Linked DNA regions of Homo sapiens: region 1 is linked to region 2. The links are contacts of gene promoters, found by promoter capture Hi-C in human tissues and cell types (Jung and others, 2019). All regions are on one chromosome and are shown on one strand. The core of a region is centred on a gene start or on the middle of the fragment in contact, and the rest is flanking DNA. Distances in the headings are between cores, read along the strand shown.

The links. The method cuts DNA at HindIII sites, captures the fragments that hold promoters and counts their contacts. A contact is called where the count stands out against the background at its distance.
Region 1: the fragment with the promoter of KRT7 here is called in contact with the fragment with the promoter of KRT5 in region 2 in 1 of the 25 tissues and cell types used here (spleen).

The regions. Positions count from the first base shown.
Region 1 is chr12:52,231,241-52,235,304 of GRCh38, forward strand. KRT7 (keratin 7) reads left to right here and starts at 2,003. Exons shown (of 9, transcript NM_005556.4): 1 at 2,003-2,380; 2 at 3,915-4,064. The coding sequence starts at 2,057. It also overlaps the pseudogene TMT1AP1. RefSeq lists an enhancer at 2,589-3,564. The HindIII fragment of the contact is 11,918 bases long and covers 1-4,064 here.
Region 2 is chr12:52,519,144-52,523,231 of GRCh38, forward strand. It overlaps KRT5 (keratin 5), which reads right to left and starts at 1,251. Exons shown (of 9, transcript NM_000424.4): 1 at 599-1,251; 2 at 1-17. The coding sequence starts at 1,153. RefSeq lists enhancers at 1-338, 3,158-4,088. The HindIII fragment of the contact is 8,601 bases long and covers 1-4,088 here.

The sequences.
Region 1 (4,064 bases), core at 753-3,252, 290 kb before region 2:
ATCTGGAGATTTCATCTTGGGTGAAAAATCCATGGCCCAGGGAGGGGCAGTGACATGTCCAGGGCCTCAAGGCAACAGCAGTGCCCTGACAAAGATTTCCCAGCCAGGCTTTAGGGGAGAAGTGGATGCAGGAACTCCTGGTCTAGGTGGGCACAGCCTCCAGAGCGCAGATCCTGTAGGGGGCTGGAGATGGGGACGGATGAGAGGGCCAGAGGCAGAACTTGTTAGTGGAGGTATGGGAGAGCAGGCGTTGGTGTGAGAGGCAGTGGTAAAAACAGAGTTGAAGATGAGCCCTGAGGGGTGAGGAAGTTGGAGTGTGTGTGTGTGTAAATTAAACAATTGGTCTTTTTTGCCTGCTTGGGCGTTGGGGAAGGAGGGCAGTGAGATTCCTATGAATGCAAATATCACAGGACCAGGTAATCCGTATGCTCTTCAAGCTACAACCAGGCACAATTCCAGGTCGAATCTCTCTCGGTCTTATGCACACATACATGCTCCACAGCCGATACCACAGCAGGTCTCCTTGGGCACCCCTCCGCCTCTGGCCTGAGCTGACCCAACACCAATGGCTAGGGTCAGGAGGGGAGGCAGGGAGGGAGGCTGGTGAGCCTTCACTAAGATCACTGAGAAGGAGTGACAGTCTTTAGCCTCACTGGAAGTCCTTGTGCTTTAACTGAAATGGCCAAGCAGGAAGGACATTCCGTCCCCACCCTTGTCTCCCCCAAGGGCTTAGGTCTGAGGTAACGAACCTGGCCAGCTTATTGGGAGGGGCTAGAGGTGGGCTAAGGGCAGACGGAAGCCAGGCCTGAGAACAGGGTGTGGCAAGCATGGCTGGCCCTACCGGGAAGTGAGGCCAACACTCAGGCTTTGTCCGGTATTCGGTTCCAGCACTAGGATTACCCCTCTTGACTGGGTTTGAAACTGCTGGGAATTGTTTGGTGGTGGCTTCACGGGAGAAAGATGATGAAAGCTGAGGGCCTTTAAACAGGAAAATGGTGGAGGGAGCGGGAGGAGAGTTGAGTGCTAACAGAAGCACACGCACTCAGGCAGGCATGAAAATGTGTGCCATTGTGTAGCCACAGCTGCCCCCTCGCCCAGGATGCACGCACAGACCCCCATCTGTGTAAGCAGGCTCAGACATGCGGGTGCATATGCCTGGGGGTGTGAGCACAGCAGAGCCCAGAGGCCTGCAGGCGTGTGCACACATCCACAAAGTGTCCACACATCCACAAAGTGTCACAAATACACACAAGTGTCCCCTTCCTGTACAGGGACGCATAAAATAAATGGGCAGGAATATGAGTGGAGGGTCCGGGAGGTGAGGGTCCAGGGTAAGCATTCCCAAGGTCCCTGGGATTCCGATGCCTACTGGAGTGGGGAGGGGAGGAGCCAGAGGTGCGGTCGGTCGTGTGTCTCTCTCAGCCTAGTTTCTATGGGAAATGAAGTAGGAAGGAACGCAGCCAGGGAAACTAGCTGGGCCAGGAGGGGTCAGACCCCTGAACAAGTGAGCTGATCTCTCAAGGAGGAGCTGGATCGGTGTGAGGGAGAGCGGTAAGGAATGCCTTTCTGGCTTCAGCAGCCTGGAGGATGGGGACGTCTGGGCGTTGACTCCTGGGTTGGAACTTTTCAGCCCACCCCTTCCCCCAGTCTCTTGCCACTGGGTCTCTCTGCTTGGGCCTCAGGGATCTCTAGGTTCTTCACTCCCTCTCCAAGCATCCTCCTCCGGGAAGCCTTCCCTCACTGAGTCCGTTTCCAATGGGCTGGAACTGCGGTCCCCCGCTGTTCTCTGCGGCCGTCTAGGGATGGCGCTCCTGCCTACTCCGGACCATCCCTGCTTGGACTGAAAGCCTGGGCTTCGGCGGGGCGGGCGGGCAGAGGGCGGAGGGCGGCCCCAGGAGGGGCCTGGCAGCAGAGAAAGGTGGCCCGCGGCAGCCCCGCCCCTACCTGTGGAAGCCCAGCCGCCCGCTCCCGCGGATAAAAGGCGCGGAGTGTCCCCGAGGTCAGCGAGTGCGCGCTCCTCCTCGCCCGCCGCTAGGTCCATCCCGGCCCAGCCACCATGTCCATCCACTTCAGCTCCCCGGTATTCACCTCGCGCTCAGCCGCCTTCTCGGGCCGCGGCGCCCAGGTGCGCCTGAGCTCCGCTCGCCCCGGCGGCCTTGGCAGCAGCAGCCTCTACGGCCTCGGCGCCTCACGGCCGCGCGTGGCCGTGCGCTCTGCCTATGGGGGCCCGGTGGGCGCCGGCATCCGCGAGGTCACCATTAACCAGAGCCTGCTGGCCCCGCTGCGGCTGGACGCCGACCCCTCCCTCCAGCGGGTGCGCCAGGAGGAGAGCGAGCAGATCAAGACCCTCAACAACAAGTTTGCCTCCTTCATCGACAAGGTGAGCGGGACTGGACCTCGCCTCTCCTCGAGCCGCGCTCCAGACCACACCAGCCGCCCTAACTAGCCCTGCCTGCGCGCGGGCCAGGCGCTGGGGAGCACTGCCGCCCTTCTGTCTTTCCGCCAGTGTTGGGGACACGATCTGGGGGTCCTTCCTCCTTCGCATGAACCCCGTGGCTATTTTATCCCCTCGGTTTCCAAGCCCTCCCTTCCAGCAAGCTGCCCAGCTGCCCCTCCCTTTCCTCCCGGAGTGCGGGCCTGAGTCCTGTAGGGCTGCCCTCGCTGGCTGCCTGTTGGTCACCTGGACCAGTTTTGCCTCGGACTAGGAGTTCCAGAGGCCTAGGCCAGGAGTTCTCTCTCTGGGACCCTTTCCCTGAGAGAGGACCGTGTGGAGTCAGGAATGGAGTTGGATGGCACGCCCTTCCCAGAGGGGGAGACCCAGGCTCTCTCAGATGCTGATGCGGATGCAGATGCTGGAGATTAGAGCGGCAGTCGGTGGGGCGGGGGAGGGGGGGGGGCTCCCGCCCCTCCCCTCCCCCACCTGCCTGGTCCTCCAGCCTCCCTTAGGTGGCAGGAGGAGAGGTTATACCTGCCCTTGAAGACAGCCCAGTTGGGGGCAGGGAGTGGCAGAGAGGGCCCTCAAAAAGGGGTCCATTTTGGAGATATTTTTCCTGGCTGTTGGCCTCCGCCACACATGGGGCCGCTGGAGGGGGCGAGGGCAGACTTGACTGGTGGGTTTGGGAGGAGTGCTGCCAAAGCCAGGAACTCAGGGCTGGCCCTGCTGGGCTGTTCTGGCCAGGGCCCCCTTCCTCAGCTTAGACGAAGTGTACTCCCACACCCGCCTCCCTCACGTTCTCCTTTCCTTCGCCATTCACCCAGACCGGTCTTTTAGATTTCATAGGGGCCTCCCCAAGCTGCTCCAGGCCCAGGTTCCCCCATGTGTTGAGCTGCACCGTCTTACTCTCTGTGGTCCCCAGGGCCTGGGGCCCTGAGCTGCTGGTTTTGCAGAGGCCTCTATTGCCTCCCACCTCCAGTCATACCGGCTACTCCTTAAGGGCCTTTGTGGGCTCCAGGCTGGGGTCATTTTACCATGGATTGACTGTCCTGAGGCCTTGCTGGAGAAAGGGGAAGGAGAGAAAGGATATTGAGGAAGGAAGAGAAGAGGTCCCAGACAGAAGGGAGGGCTGGGCCTGGTCATCCTCATGATCCATTGACAGGAAGAGGTGGCTGTTCAGATAGGGAGGTGGAGAACACCACCTGTAATGTGATGGGGAGTGAAGTGGAGAGGAGGCCCTGGAGCACATTCGTCGAGAGTCAACCACGGGGCACTTCCGTGCACCAGGCAGACCTGCTTCCTGGATCACTCTGTAGGACACTTGATTTGGAGTCCAAAGGGAGAGGGCTGGAAGCCCCAGGCAGGGAAACAGCCAGGGGGAGCATGGCTCTGCTAAGTGGCTAAAGATGATGTTCCTCAATCCCGCTGTGGGTGGCACGCTCTGGCTCCTCTTGAGTTTCCTCCTTCTCGCCCGTTCTAGGTGCGGTTTCTGGAGCAGCAGAACAAGCTGCTGGAGACCAAGTGGACGCTGCTGCAGGAGCAGAAGTCGGCCAAGAGCAGCCGCCTCCCAGACATCTTTGAGGCCCAGATTGCTGGCCTTCGGGGTCAGCTTGAGGCACTGCAGGTGGAT
Region 2 (4,088 bases), core at 1-2,500:
TGCTCCAGGAACCGCACCTGGAGGGGAGCAGGGTTTGAAGATAGAGAAACTTGGATTTCATGTTCTATGATCAACTCACTAAGGTGCCTCCCACCTCTTTCCGTCCCTCTAAAGCTTTTCTGTGCACTGTGCCTGGCCCTGGGCCCCAGGAGGGGAGGTGCAGACTGAGGCACCCAAACTCACTTTTCCAGGGGGAGATAGGACACCTATCCAGGGCACAGAAAGCACTAGGAGTGCTGCTTGGAGTGTGTCCCGGCTCAGGGGTGGCTGCAAAGGCACTCAGGCTGCTGCCCATGCACTTGTCTACCTTCCTGTACAGTCAGCCCCTTTATATATGGCATGAAATTCATCTCTCTGTCCAACAGTTGTTAAGAGGCCCTTGTGAGCTAACCTCTGAATGGGAAGAAATAATTCTCCCTTCCCAGCTGCCAGTCTAATTCAGAACGTGTCCACAAATCCAGGGCACAGAAACAAACGGAAACACAGAACTGTACAACTATAAAAGTATTTGCACAAAGCCAAAACATCTTCCTTCTTTCTCTCTCTTTGGCATTTATTTCAGACCCACAGTGATTTTTTACAAAAGATCGTAGCTCACCTTGTCGATGAAGGAGGCAAACTTATTGTTGAGGGTCTTGATCTGCTCGCGCTCCTCGGTCCTCACCCTCTGGATGCTGGGGTCGATTTGCAGGTTGAGGGGAGTCAGGAGACTCTGGTTGACAGTGACCTCTTGGATACCTCCAGGAGGGCAGACAGGAAAGCCAGGGCCACCGAAGCCACCTCCAAAGCCAGCTCCGCCACCGAGCCCAAAGCCACCACCAGCTCCACCGCCGAAACCAAATCCACTACCGGCACCACCTCCAAAGCCATAGCCGCCTCCAGCACCAGCACCAAACCGGTTCCTGAAGCTGCCACCACTAGTGCTGATGGATATCCTCTTGGAGCCCCCCAGGTTGTAGAGGCTCCGGCTGCCATAGCCACCCACTCCACAAGCACCCGCAAGGCTGACCCTGCCGAAGCCACCACCACCGCCACCCCCGGACCGGGACACGGAGGTGAAGCTGGTGCGGGAGACAGACGGGGTGATGGCAGAGGCGGTGCTGAAGCTACGACTGCCCCCGCTCCGGAAGGACACACTTGACTGGCGAGACATGGTGGCTTGTTCCTGGTGGAGCAAGAGAACCAGGCACTAGTGGGTTGGGAGGTGCTGGAGAGAACAGAGCTCAGCAGGACGCAGAAGGTGGCTCTGTTACCCAGGAACGGTGATGCCCCCTTTTTATCCCTTCCAGAACTGGGCTGGGCGAGAGAGCTGTCGAGCTGTGAATGATTAAGTGGGCTGGGCATGCCTGGGGGGCAGCTGTGAGCTCACCGGTCACACCTGCACAGTGGTGTGGGGTGCAAACGCTTTCTTCCTGGCAGGCTCTGCTCAGTTAGAAATAACCTTGCCTTGCAGCACTGATCTCTTGGCAGCAAGTTGGTGACGCTGCTAGCAAGTATGTCTTCACCATAGAGGCTGGGGGCTGTGAGCAGCCCAAAAAGGATGCCAGGAACTGAGGGGGCATTGGCATGGCCAGTGTCCTGGGGACTCTTACAGGACCAGGAGTATTGACAACCATCCCAGTACGGTACATGCTGAGCACCTGCCCTTCCAGCTTGGGGAAGCTGTCCATCAGCGGGGGGCAAACGATTCCCCAGTGATCTGCTCTTACACTTTTCCAGGCAGCAGGTTGCTGCAGGGTTTTCCCCTCTGGGAAAGGCAATCTGTAGCCTTATATTCTTGGTTATGTGCTAGAGGGAAAATAGAGTTTCATCCTTTTCTGCACAATTTTTTTCTTAGGGAAGGCACAGCTATCCCAGAGCCCACTGGGCAGATCTGCCTGCAAGGTTTAGGCCAGAGAATGTGGGAAGCCCTCAGCGCCCCCTATAAACCACTTTGACCTCTTTAAGGCCAGGTTTATCCTTCCATAGCTCCTCCTAACTCAGCATTTTTTCTGCCCTTTGACCTTTTCCTTGCTCTTTGGCCTGGGCAGGACTCTGTGGGGGGTTTAGGAAACCCGGGGATCCCATGCAATCCCTTAAAAAAAAACCCTGAGACTCATGGGCTATAGCGTCTCTCTTTGGGGGTAGCTACTCTGCCGGTTCCCCAGCCCCCCAGGTGTGTTCCAGCAAGCTCTATTCCACTAGGGAAGAAATGAGTCATCGTATGTGTTGATACAGGCTGAAGGCCGCCACAAACACATACCTGCAGGAGCTTCTAATCTCATCAGGAACATGTTGAGAGTCTGACGGCCTGTTATAACGGCGAACCACCCTGTTCCAAGCAGCGGGACTTGCTCTGCTTTCTCTATGCTGTAGCCCACAGCCTCCTTCAGGGCCAAGGCAATGGAAAACGGGATTCTAAGTCTATGGATTGTCCTGCCAGAAAGGCTAGCCAGAGCAGGCCTGTGGGCCCAGGCAGCTGGCATGACAATCTGCCAGCTGCTTTAGGGAGGGCCCTTTGAGATCCCCTCTGCAAAACTTGTCTGGGGGGTTGTGGCACCAGGTGGAGGAAAGGGGGTTTCTGATGAGGTTTTAACACACGTCTGTTCTAAACCACACCCACTCTTTTTGGCAGCAGATCTGAGTGGGGCCACCTCTCTGCCGTCCCCCAAATAGAAGCAGGGCTCTCAGGCAGGACAGTGCTTGGGCTGTTCAGAGTTTCGGGGGCGCCCTGTGGCCCGAGGCTGGAGGTAGGAATGCAATGGGGATGGCTTCAAAGCCTCAGGGAGGAGGGGCTATATTCTCAAGAGTAGAAGAACAGGACCAGACCCAGGCTCAGGAATCTCTCACCAGGGCCTGCGGTTGGCCACAAGGAAGCCAAGGCAGTGGGAAAATGACTCCCTGGTGCTGAGGATCAGCTGAAACAGTGACTTCTCACCAGAGGGCTGCGATGAGCAAGCAGCTGACAGGTCAATCTCGGCAGACAGACCAATGGCCGGAGCCGGTCTTACAGGTCTTGAGCAAAATGGTTTGGGTGGCCTCCCTGGCTGGAGCATTTCTGAGACCCTCAGAGATGAATTGTGCTGAGCTCACCATTTTCACATTTGGTTGCTTTCTGGAGAACAGATGTGAGTGTCCTGGAGGCCTGAGACATACCAGGGGACCCTCGGCTCCTGATAGAACAGAACAGATCCAAGCCTGAAGCAAGTGTCTGAGGACTCGTAGTGGGATGCTCCTGCTCCACTCAAAGATCGATATCGGGGTATATCCCCACCACCACATACACTCACAGGTCCCGGGTACAGACCTCACTGCCCTCAGGGAAGCCCCACCCCTCCTGAGACACTGGGACATTCTCTTCTCCCCATTCATTCTCCTCCCAGCTGTGTTGTGAAGAAAGAGGACTTGGCAGAGCAGGAATGCGTTCTGGCTAGTCTGAGGATTGCTAGAGTGTGCCAAGCTCAGATCCATGTGCCAGGGACCAACGGTGAGTGTGTGGTGCTCCATGGGAGCAGGGAGCATGTGGGTGCTCCATGGGAGAAGCAGCAGCACTCTTCTATCCGAGCTTCGTGGGAATCCTCCCATGAGCAGGCAGGGCAGCCCCTCCCTCAATGCCAGACCTGGACAGGTATAAATAATGGAGCCGCTCCTGGTGGGGAGCCAGGCACCAGCACCACTGCAGCTCGGGAGAGTCCCACCCCAGCCTGGAATTTCACTGTGGCAGGAAGGGAGGGATTGTGTTAGGCTCACCAGGGAGCTTTCCTGCTGGGCACCCCACAGAGGCAGTTCCCAGGCTTGGTGGGACATGTTGCTCAGCTTCTCCTCTGGGTGCTGCTTTCCTTGTCAGCAGAAGACAGTGCAGGGCCCGCCCTGCTGCTCTCCCCATCAGAGAAAGGACAGTAAGCTGGCTGCCCTGACCTCTCTCGCAGAGCTGTGCAGGGAATGTAGGACCTGGTCAGCATTTCATACATGGAGAAGCCCTTCACAGACACCAGGGAGAGGGTGGTATCCATTCGTGGAACAAGGGTTAGGCAAATCCTGCCATCCCAGCCCAGGATTCCTTCTCCTCAGAGCCTCCACTCCAATCTGTAGGGCTTTAGTAGAAGATA